Regions from separate parts of the Homo sapiens genome. Here region 1 is linked to region 2. Evidence: promoter capture Hi-C in 16 types of primary human blood cells and fetal thymus (Javierre and others, 2016). All regions are on one chromosome and are shown on one strand. Each heading gives the region's core, a stretch centred on a gene start or on the middle of the fragment in contact. The rest is flanking DNA. Distances are from core to core; before and after follow the strand shown.

Region 1 (6,557 bases), core at 2,082-4,581, 210 kb before region 2:
GTTCTGTCTACATGTGTCAGGAACAGTTAACATGTAATACCTGGAGCTATGGGGTAACTGACAGGAAAAGCAGCAGTAAGAGCTGTAAGAGAATGATGTACAGATAGTAGACAATACCACTTTAGGGGTCCAAAATGGTTTTCTAGTTCCCAATCTCATCCTGCCTTTGGGAGTCTCTGAGACAGCTCTGTATCCTTATCTTTTGCCCAAGTTAGCACTGGTGTGCTTATTATTGTAACTAGGTTTTGTTTTCACATGTTCTTTGATCCTCACAATATTCCTATGTAACAGACAACAGCAGCATAATAGAATGAACATATGGAATCAGACAAGCATGGCCCTGTTATACACTCAATGTGTAACTTTTGAGTAAGTTAGTAGTATATGAGTGTCTTTCCTCATAAAAATAGGGTAACAATGCCCATTTTGCTTTAGGGCTGCTTGGAAGATACAGACAAAAGTAAGGCATCTGGCAAAAAGCACTCAACAAATTACAGTTCCTATTAGTATTCCCATTTTACAAAAGGGAAATCTATGGCTGAGAAATACCAATATTCTTACTACTATACCACACTTGAAATAAAAATACAAGATTATCAAAAGAATGATAGACATGAGAAACTTGTAAACTCTTAAGTGCTCGTGGAATTGTGCAGACTTGACGCAACTAGCTTTAATGACAGTTTTGCTTATAACCACTCAACTTCCTTTGCTCAGACTCTGTATTATTTTCCCTAGATAGATTTCTCCCCCTTGGTAAGAGAATGTACTGCCAATCAACATGGCTGCTTGTCAGTTCTACTTCTTGGTAAGACTTTTAGTTTTGTGATTTTCTCCAAGGTGGACCACTTACCAGAAAACCAACAAAAAACCAAATTGGGCACTGCACACCAGACCCTTGGGAGGCACCATTCCACAAAACCCACTCAACTAGGGCCTCCAGTGAGGCCCTATTCTGAGCCAGTCAATTTGCCTTGAATCATTTTGTCCCTTATGATCTGGAGTTGCTCGCCTATATTCTCTTTTTGCAACTATAGAAGGCAGTCTAGATCAAGGATCTCAACCTAGTCTGCATGTGAGAATCACCGGCTGGAATTAGGGGTGAGAATGCGTAAAGGGCTTTACAAAAATTACTGATGCCTACCCAAAGCAATTAAATCATAATCTCCATAAAGTAACACTCAGGCACTAATATTTTTTAAAGCTTCTCAGTGATTCCAATTCGCAGTCAAGTTTAAGTATCACTGGTCTAGGTAATGCCAGATGGACAGTGGCATTGTTGCAAGCCAAGACTAGTAGAAGCTGGGAAAAAAAAACTGCCCATGGCCGGGTTTTCTTTGGCCCACATTTAATTAAGAGAATTCACATGAAGTCTGGATTTCACAGGCTCCTCTCAGAGCCCATCTACTCCAGGGTACTCTATTTCTAAAATATTTACTTGGCTCTTGTTGACATTTCAGTTTGAGACTCCTGGATTACTTGAGACCCCTGAATTACTATGGTAATAAGGTTGTTGTGGTATTGATAGAGCTGCTACATATCAATGTGTGACTGATATACAAACTTTAACTGGCTCCTACCCTGAAAATAGTCCTAAATAAGCATATCTGTGGCCCTAAATGATAGCCTGAAAACTGCTTTTCGCACATAACTCATATTATTTTTTCCCATCCTAAATGCTACCGCCTAGAGAAAGGTCAACAATAGTTGCCTTAAAAATTGGACTCAACTCCACACAAAAGCAAAAACTAAAAACCTAAAAGTTGTCTGTTTACTCCCCTGGTAGGCACTATTTGATTGATATCCAACTGAGTATTTCTGAGTTGGCTATTTGATCTTGGGTAACTACAGAAGCAAAATCCCTAAAATAAACCAGATATAACCAACTTTATCCCCAAAGATATATGAAAAATCTGAGGGGCCCACTTATCTTCCTGTTTCTGAAGGAGCCAAAATTTTCTCATAAAACTCACTGCTTATCATCTTTTTAAAGCCTCAAAGGCTGAGATCCAATGGATATGGGATGTTCTGTGCATCCTGTAACAATTTCCTGCAGACTATCCAAAATTCTTTACAATGGAAATTCATTTGAATAACTAAACCAACAACTGCAAATTACTTGGGTACTATTAAGCAAATCATACTAAACCACTTATTCTCAACTACTGTGTTGCAAACTGCAACAAATGAAAGATCAGAGATAGTATAGAGCAACCTCTAACAGTAGCAGTGATAGGCATTTATAATAGTCTTTAATGTGGTTTAAAAGTACAATATAGTTAAGAACTACCTTCCCTGGTACAGAATACTAGGTCATTCTGTGACCAGAATAACAAAATATGATACAAAGAGGTAGCATGATGTTAAGTTTCAGGTAGAAGGAAATGAAAAATTGAGGGAGTTATTTAACCTCAGTGAGCCTTATCTTCCTCCTTTATAAAAAATGGCAATTTCTTCTCCACTTGTTTTAGACAGTAAGTTGAAGTGCTTTGAAGAGGAAAAGTGATAAACTCCCATAATTACAGATCCAAATAAGAGTAAATTAAATTGTCCTAAAACCTGGACTTGGCCAGAGTATCAATGACAAACGATCTTCAACTTTGGGACCTTCTTTAAGAAAACTCTCCCTTCATCCCTATATAACAGTATCAGCTTTAAGAGTGAGCTAAAATGAAAGTAATGTAAAGGAGTTTTGAGGTTAGCTAAGAATGACTTTTAAAGTATTTTCTTTAAAAAAAGTGGCATTCAAAGAGCTATTGAACATTTTTGTATCACTGTTACAACACAAACAATTTAAATTCAATATCTGAGATGCAGAAATTGGAAATCTTTCAGAAAATGCTCTGAAAGCTTCATTAACCAAGTTAAATGTTGGGGGAATGGGCTCATTCACAGTTCCCTGCAAAGAAACAACCAATTTTTGACATTTTATATTAAGTGGGAACAGTGAATAAGGCACATAATACGGGTGGCTATTAGCCACCTTTAGTCATTTTTTAACTATAAAAATAAACATAAGTAACTAATGGAATAACAAAATAAAAGTTTATTTTATTAGAATTAGGAATGTTCTTTCCCTCTGGGCAACCTGAACAGTCCAGTTACAATGAAATCTAAGAACAGTTATTTCCACAGCATAGGGTGCTCTATGCACAAAATTACAGGGTTAGGAGCATTTAATCAATTTACCATTCTGATTGTCTCACCAACCCACCCCATCCCATCCCCCAAGTGCTCTATTACCGGGGTTTGTAGCTAAAATAATTTGTTACATTAACTCCTTTTCCCTCTTCTACTAAATTTCAGTTCCTAATCATGGTTGAACCACTTTATTACACAGCAGATTCAACCATTTCAAATGAAGTCAGCCAGTCTTGGATCTGTTGTATATGGGTGTATGTATACACGTGTATCTAACATATTTATTTAAACACACATAAAACACATACAATCTGGGTTGTGGAAAATTACAGATAATTTAGTCTGATATTATATGCTACTCAATTTTACCACTGTGGTTTGTGTCCTGAGCTTTGGATCAAAATTTTATTTTAAATCACTGAAAGTCCATCTGCTGCTGAATGAATTGTTCAAATGAAGCATGCACTTTTCAAAAGACAATGAAACTGACCTCAAGACATGGAGACCTTGGTGCTTACTGTGAATAGATCCCTCAGATAAGACTTCTGTAGGTGAAACAGGGAAGCTGTCATGGCTTGCCTATCCCAGCTGGGGGCACTGAATCTACTAATAACACAAGCAATTCACTCTGGGAATTCTGTCAAATATGGTGGTATCTGTTAAAAGCTTGGAAGTAGAAAAGGGCCAGTTCATCTTGATCATACAAATTAGGGAATGCACCCACAACTGCAATACCCTCAGGCAGTATGCCAACATTGAAATAGAAAGCATCTCTAAAAAGCACTGTTCCTCCATGGGTGAAGACTGGTATTAGGAAGTGCACACACAATTTTTGGGTATTTGTTGCAACAGGAACACGTGGATTTATGACACTCAAACCTAGACACTGCAAAGTTAACTGGTAAGATTTTTTTTTTTTAAACACCACACATACACAAAGCATTTTAAAGGAGCCACATATATCTATATAGCAACTCTGACTGCTTTTCAAAGTTACCAGGGAAAGGAACTTATTCAGGCTTTCTTTAAAAAAACTCCTTAGTTTTAATGTATATCTTTTTAAGATTGATGCTGTCATTTGAAGTAAAATAATGTCATATGGATAATGGGGGAAGAGGGGAGAGAGACGAGAAAATGGAAGAAGCAGACACTGAGTTCAGATTTGCACCTGAGGTGGCAAGGGAGGAAAGGAGAAAAGGTACAGGTAAAGTTGATCCTAAAGCGACAAGTGGTTTAAGGAAGCAGCATTTATACTCAGCAAACATTCACTGATTTTTGATGGGAAAAGAACAGTTGCCAGTAAATCTCCTGTAACAACCTTTTCTAAAAGGAAAAGTAGGGTTGATTCAGCAAAGCCTAACTTAGGCAAAAGGCCAGAGGAAAGTGAACCTACTTCCCAATGGAGTAATAGGATGTACAGTGTAAGAGCAGACAAAGCTGCCTCACAAATGGTAAACACTCCCTAGGCAAAAGACATTTAAAGGAAGACGAAGAGGTCCTCAGCCTCAACTGGTATTTCATATTTAGACCTCTTAATCTAGTTGCCTAGTTCACTCTGCACTCCTGTATAAAACTGACAGATTTACAGATGCTGACCTATTGAAAAATACCACAGCCAGAATGGCCTAAACAGGTATATAGTTAATACAACCACCACCATCCTTTACTTTTAACATAGCTCTTAGTAGGAATTTCATAAAAATGGACATCACAGCTAAAATGCATTATTAATTCTCCTATCTGCTGACAATAAAAAAGCAGCAAACTCAGTGATTTCTATTTAAATGCACTAGATGGGAATATCATGTTCTAGGGGTGTTTGCCTTCAAACCAAACCCACAGCAACACACACAAGCAATTTCGGTATCCACCATTTTAAATTCACAATCTGAGACTAAATGAATGGCTATTTATATTTAAAGCAAAACATTCTCTTTGACACCCTAATGTAGAGAAGGGGTGAGCAGACGAGCCATAACTAAAATCTGAAAAGCAGCAATTAAGGGAAAACCAAAAAGTAAAAGAAATTTTAAAATGCTTCCACTGGATGCGACAGGGGACTTAAGAATGCCTACAGCTGTGTGCATAACATGGGCACACAAAGGCTTGGGTAGAGGCATGATGCCATGGAGGGGGATTAGGTTGGGACAGGTTAATTCATGAGCTGTAGCAACAAAACTCCCTGCTGTACCCCTTAATCAGGTCATGGCATTAGTCAGAGCTTGACCTCCCTTGTCCCTGATCAAGAGCAGGAATTCAAGGCATGAGGCCCATGGCCGGCAACAGACATACCAACACCAGAAAGGGCAAAATAACCTCAGGAAAGTGAAAGAGCTCTAGATAGGTCTTCCAGAGGTGCTAAACCGACACACCTTTATCCCAACCCCAACCCGGGAAAGATAAGCAAACTGAAAGAAAATGCACAGCAAATAGACATAATCTTGAAGATTTTTAAAGAATAAATATTTTTTTGTAATTAAACATTATGCAAACACGTGCCACGCTTGCTTTGTCCATGCATATGCGCTATATACAATTTTGAAAAATACTGTGTTGTCCTCTTGTTTTAAAAGTCATATACAAAGTTTTTATGTTTTTCGTTTGTTGAATCCTCTTGCTGCCTACCCCTTTCCCCATCCCAAGATTTTCTTTACAAGGAACTAAGCATCATTCACTCATGACCTTGGGGTATGAGAGAAAGAGAGTCAGTCTGTGTGTGGGTGTATCTGTATGTGTAGGGGAGGAAGGGGAAGAGGTCCTTTACCAAAGTACAACAAAATGGCTGGTTTGAACATGAAAAGCAGTGTCAAGGAGCTGTTTGAAATTTTAACTGTACTACACTCAGGAAAAGGAAAAAGAAAAAAAAGGAGTCAGCTTTGAGAATGAAGCTACGTTACAAGTTAAAGTTGGAGGGCTTTTAGTGTGTCTGTCACACTTTTGTTGGTGGCCTAGAATACTGTTGTACAATGGTTTATCTACCTTTTTATTACAATATAATTTACTTAAACTTTCCATTAACAAAACAATTCTGGTACTACAGACCAGTGGTGTCAGAATAGGCTTAGTGCCTCCTTGTTTGTGTTTGTTTTGTTTTAATTGCATGAGCACTCTAGATGGTAAAGTTTTCAGAGTTCATTTTATGCAGGGCCATTCTCAGTCCTCAATGTACTCCCACAGATCTTTTTCATAGCCTTCATGCACATGCTGTAACAAAACCCTTCGTCGACTCTCACAGTATCTGTAATCAAAGAGAAAAAAAAAAAAACTTGTTGTCAGCCTCTAATAATAAAAAAAGAGGCATTTACTTATTTTTAAGGCATCCCTATAGTTTATCCAGACTCGGAACCAAGCACCTATTTTTTATTTTAATAGGCACATGTTCAGGTCTAGATGTACAGACACATCAAACTGCTTCT
Region 2 (5,708 bases), core at 3,054-5,553:
AGATTAACTCAGAGAGTTATGAGATCACAGAGGGGGATCTTACCCAGATTTGAGAAGTCAGAAATTTCCAGGATGGTAAAATATAAGTTTAGACCTTCAAGTAGGTGGAGGGATTGGAAAGTGGGAAAGGCATTGCAGAGAGAAGAGAGTATGGTAGAGGACCAGGAAGTGAGGTAATCGTGGCACATTTTCTTTTGCTAGCCCCATAAACCCTTTGTTCAATATGTCATCTCTTTCACATCTCTGTGCTTTGCCTATGCTCCCCTTCCCTGCCTGGCTAACTCATGCTTTGGGAGTCAATTCAAAGTTCACCTCCATTGTAAAAGACTTCCTGAGGCAAATTATTTATTTCCTGCTTCTTTCTGATCCCTTAATTTATGAGCCAAAAACCTGAACACATTGTCTGACAGTGAATTATTTTTCTGATATGTAAATTAATTTTATTAGAAGCTATAGATATGAAAATTAAATCATGTTTTTATTCATTTAACAAGCTGCCTTTAATAAAGAAAAAATAGCTCTCAGCTTTTGGCTCGGAGGAGGCCAAGGTGCAACTTTCTTCGGTCATCCCGAATCCGGGTTCATTCGACACCAGCTGCCTCCACCATGCCGCCAAAGTTTGACCCCAACGAGATCAAAGTTGTATACCTGAGGTGCACTGGAGGTGAAGTCGGTGCCACTTCTGCCCTGGCCCCCAAGATCGGCCCCCTGGGTCTGTCTCCAAAAAAGGTTGGTGATGACATTGCCAAGGCAACGGGTGACTGGAAGGGCCTGAGGATTACAGTGAAACTAACCACTCAGAACAGACAGGCCCAGATTGAGGTGGTGCCTTCTGCCTCTGCTCTGATCATCAAAGCCCTCAAAGAACCACCGAGAGAGAAAGAAACAGAAAAACATTAAACACAGTGGGAATATCACTTTTGATGAGATCGTCAACATTGCTCAACAGATGCGGCACTGATCCTTAGCCAGAGAACTCTCTGGAACCATTAAAGAGATCCTGGGGACTGCCCAGTCTGTGGGCTGTAATGTTGATGGCCAGCACCCTCATGACATCATAGATGACATCAACAGTGGTGCTGTGGAATGCCCAGCTAGTTAAGCACAAAGGAAAATATTTCAATAAAGGATCATTTGACAACTAGAAAAAAAAGAAAAACCATCAAATATTATATACAGTATGTTATTATTTTTTATATTCATCTACTGTCCAAATTGATGGCAATGTTGTATATATACTAATTTAAATAATTCATATTGTTAAAAACTGTTTATTCATTTTTAAATTTAAATTTAATTTTTTTTGAGACAGAACCTCCACCCAGGCTGAAGTGCAGTAGCGTGATCTTGGCTCACTGCAACCTCTGCCTCCCAGGTTCAAGTGACCCTCCTGCCTCAGCCTCCCAAGTAGCTGGGATTACAGGTGCCTGCCACCACACTAATTTTTGTATTTTTAGTAGAGATGGGGTTTCACCGTGTTGGCCAGGCTGATCTCAAACTCCTGACCTGAAGTGATTCACCCGCCTCAGCCTCCCAAAGTGCTGGGATTAAGGCATGAGCTACCATACCCAGTCTAATTTTAATTTTAAGTTTTTTTGGTATATAGTAGGTGTATATATTTATGGGGTACCTGAGATGTTTTGATATAGGCATCCAATGTGAAATAAGCACATCATGGAGAATGGGGTTATCCATACCCTCAATCATTTATCCTTTGAGTTATAAACAATCCAGTTACACTCTTTTAAAATATACAATTATTATTGACTATAGTCACCCTATTGTGCTCTCGAATAGTATGTCTTATTCAGGCTACTTTTTTTGTACCCATTAACCACCCCCATCTCAAAAAAGAAAAAAATAAAGAGAGATGGGATTTCCTCGTATTACCCATGCTGATCTTGAACTCCTGGGCTCAAGTGATCCTCCCATCTTGGCCTTCCACAGTGCTGGAATTGCAGGTGTGAGCCACCATCCCCAGCCTGTGATCCATTTTTAATTAAGTTTGTGTATGCTGTGAGGTAGGGGATCATAGTTCATTTTTCCCACATAGGGATATCTATTTTCTTCATCACCTTTTATTGAAAATAACTTGCCTTCCCCACTAAATTAAATTGGTGTCTTCATTGAAATGGAGTAATAATCAAATGGCTCTTTTCCTGGACCCTCTATTCCGTTCCATCTATTTGTCTGCCATTATGCCAAAACCCCACTCTAGTGTATAGTAAGGGGGGATATTTTGGAAGATCAACAAATTTATCTTGTGTAACTTACTTTTATGTATGCATAAGAATATTTGGTTTAAAAATCTGGTTAAGTCTAAAAGAGCTCTTTCAGTAATAATTAAATAACTGAATCCCTGTAATCCACCATGCTCAGCCCCATTAGTAATTTTTATAGCGTCTTTATTTGGATCTAGCTCTTTCATCTTGTGTAACTCTTTTAAGTAAATGACTCCTCCCTTCTGGTACAGGTTGAATATCCATAAAAGGGTGCCTTGGCATGTGCTCAGTCCTGAAATTCTACTTTGATCTACTGCTCTCATCTTTGAAACTGCTCTAAACACTCCCCCAAATTATTGATCCTGTGGGCCTGATTATGAACTTGGCTCTTCTGACAATACTTCTCAAATCCTGTACCTTTGGTAACATCTCTCCTGACTGGCAGAGTACCCAGACACTTAATTAATGCTGATGAAAATTAAGATTTAAGCAAAGAAGAAATTGGTGTAAGAATGCAAGCCTTAGGATCTGAAACTTGATGACTGTGGGATCTAATTTCTGCTTCTTTTGCTACAAGCTCTGTTTTTGAATAATCAACTTTCAAAGACAAATTGCTTGATGAATCTCTGTATTGTCAGAATGTTTCTTTGATTTCCCATCAAAGCCATGTATGTGTAACTAGTAATTAGGTACCTACGACCTGAATATAAATTATCATTATTTCAGTAGCCCTTTATTTGTTTTTGAGAAAGGGTTTCACTATACTGCCCAGGCTAAACTTGAACTCCTTGGTTCAAGTGATCCTGCCGCCTCAGCCTCCTGAATAGCTGGGAGTAGCTGGGACTACAGGGATGTGTTATCATGCCCAGTGAAAGCCCTTTATTTTTAAAAGTTCATTTTCCTGATCTTTACATGTATTTTAATACTAAAATTAAATTTAAAAATTTTAAAAAGTACCTACTAACCAAATAATGCCACCCAATAACAATAGCATTATTTGTATTATGTTCTGGTAATATAGTGGTGAACAAGGAAGACAGGGTCTCTGATAACTGTGGAATTCTCCTTGATCACTTCTCAAGCCTCTCTTCCGGATACTATTTCTTGGATCTACAGCTGTCTTCCTTCCCCACTTCTGTAGTTCAGTCTCTCATTATTCTCTACCTCCAATAAAAAGGGGCCTCCTAACTGGTTTCTTATGCAACTACTCAACATGGTATTTCTAAAATGCAGATCTTTCGGGATGATTTTCAATTGCTCAGAGAATAAATTCCTTGACTTTCTACGTAAGGCCCTGCAGGACCAGGCCCCTGTCATTATCTCTGAGCACTCTCCATCTTGCACCCAAAGCCCCAGCAATATCTTACTGCTTTCAGTAAATACACACCGGGCTATGTGGGGTTTTGTCTGGGGAAAGGGGATGTGAGTTGTAACTAAGAGATTTATAGTCAATCTTGAAGGGAAGAGCTCATATTGGAGGCAATGGAATGCCTCAAGCTGGCTCTGAAAGTACACATTTTTTCCAGTCATAAGTAGATCACATTTGTGTGATCTTGTGATCCTCTCTCTAGCAGAGCCGTGCAGACTACCTACTTCCGGCCCTTTCTTGCCCCACGAAATTTCACATCACAACGACTTGTGGTTTTAATCCTCCGTTTTTCTGCTTCTGAAGTTACTTCAGCCTGGCAAGTCCTTTACCTCCCCGTAGGCCTGGCGAGCTGCATCACAACATTCAAGATTCACCCTAGAGCCATCTGGGAAACTTTCTTCTCCAGGTCGCCCTGCGTCCTCGCCTCCCCACCCCGTTCTTCTCGAGTCGGGTGAGCTGTCTAGTTCCATCACGGCCGGCACGGCCGCAGGGGTGGCCGGTTATTTACTGCTCTACTGGGCCCGTGAACAGTCTGGCGAGCCGAGCAGTTGCCGACGCCCGGCACAATCCGCTGCACGTAGCAGGAGCCTCAGGTCCAGGCCGGAAGTGAAAGGGCAGGGTGTGGGTCCTCCTGGGGTCGCAGGCGCAGAGCCGCCTCTGGTCACGTGATTCGCCGATAAGTCACGGGGGCGCCGCTCACCTGACCAGGGTCTCACGTGGCCAGCCCCCTCCGAGAGGGGAGACCAGCGGGCCATGACAAGCTCCAGGCTTTGGTTTTCGCTGCTGCTGGCGGCAGCGTTCGCAGGACGGGCGACGGCCCTCTGGCCCTGGCCTCAGAACTTCCAAACCTCCGACCAGCGCTACGTCCTTTACCCGAACAACTTTCAATTCCAGTACGATGTCAGCTCGGCCGCGCAGCCCGGCTGCTCAGTCCTCGACGAGGCCTTCCAGCGCTATCGTGACCTGCTTTTCGGTTCCGGGTCTTGGCCCCGTCCTTACCTCACAGGTGAGTCGGACTTGTCCCGCCCTGTTCCTGGGCCCTGAGAGTGCCTGCCTGGGGACAGTTCCCCCAGGGCTCCAGAGACGCCCTATGGGCTTTTGTCCAGCCCTCTGATCACAGGCACTCCACTTCCTCCTCGAGCTGCATTAGGTTTTCATCCAAAGATAACTACTATAGGACTACGGTTCAATCAGGAGATTAATTTATGGAAAATACTGTGCCAGCAGAAATCTAAGGTGATCCTTCTGACCGTGTTCAAGCTAGCCAGGGTCCTAGTGAGACTGTGAGCAAGGGCTGAGTAGAGACCAGAGAAAACACTCAAAATTGGGGAGACATAATACAAGAACTATGCAAAGTTACATACAAGTTTCTGGCACATAGAATGTTTGGCGGGCGGATCACGAGGTCAGGAGTTCGAGACCAGCCCGGCCAACATAGTGAAACCCCGTCTCTACCAAAAACACAAAAAATTAGCCAGGCGTGGCGGCGCGCGCCTGTAGTCCCAGCTACTCGGGATGCTGAGGCAGGAGAATCGGTTGAACCCATGAGGTGGAGGTTGTGGTGAGCTGAGATCGCGCCACTGCACTCCAGCCTGGGCAACAGAGCAAGACTCCCTCTCAGAAAAACAACCCCCCCCCCCAAACAAAACAAAACAAAACAAAAAAAGTGTAAATTGTGAAAGAAATCATAGAACATAAGGAAGTGAGTTTCCAGCGGCCACTTGGAATGGGATGGTAGATGTAATTAGCCGGGACTGAAAAGAGGGTATTCCAGGCAGGAAGAAGGGCTTGAGCAGAGGCACAAAGAATTATGATTGAGTTCAAAGTTCAGGTCTAGTGGATGTGATGAGTGGGGGCTGGGGATTGAGGAGGGATGAGGGTGGGGAAAATGTGGGGTTGAAGAGTCAAGAGCGCTTTAGACATTGGTTTCACATAAAATGGAAGGGGCTAACAGTTTTCTTTTAGGCAGCTATGTAATCAGTACTGAAAATTGTATTTGAGGATAATTATTCCACAGCACATTTGTAAGTCGAGCCAACAATGTAAAGGAATACAATTCTGCTGCATGGGTTCAAAATTTAGAAGTTTCTTGATAATCTGGAATCTAGCTCTTTGGT

Evidence for each region. Contacts are between HindIII fragments. The CHiCAGO score rates a contact against its expected background, and 5 or more counts as called.
Region 1: a contact is called between a fragment that was not itself captured here and the fragment with the promoter of HEXA in region 2, in 12 of 17 cell types (M1 macrophages, M2 macrophages, M0 macrophages and 9 more). The highest score is 10.1, in M1 macrophages.

The regions. Positions count from the first base shown.
Region 1 is chr15:72,583,030-72,589,586 of GRCh38, reverse strand. It overlaps ARIH1 (ariadne RBR E3 ubiquitin protein ligase 1), which reads right to left. Exons shown (of 14, transcript NM_005744.5): 14 at 1-6,379. The coding sequence ends at 6,295. MIR630 (microRNA 630) reads right to left here and starts at 2,370; the gene lies at 2,274-2,370. The HindIII fragment of the contact is 957 bases long and covers 2,853-3,809 here.
Region 2 is chr15:72,374,609-72,380,316 of GRCh38, reverse strand. It overlaps HEXA (hexosaminidase subunit alpha), which reads left to right and starts at 4,303. Exons shown (of 14, transcript NM_000520.6): 1 at 4,303-4,597. The coding sequence starts at 4,345. It overlaps HEXA-AS1 (HEXA antisense RNA 1), which reads right to left and starts at 4,204. Exons shown (of 1, transcript NR_027262.1): 1 at 1,529-4,204. It also overlaps the pseudogene RPL12P35. RefSeq lists enhancers at 3,544-3,593, 3,924-4,063, 3,955-4,511, 4,512-5,067. The HindIII fragment of the contact is 8,315 bases long and covers 1-5,708 here.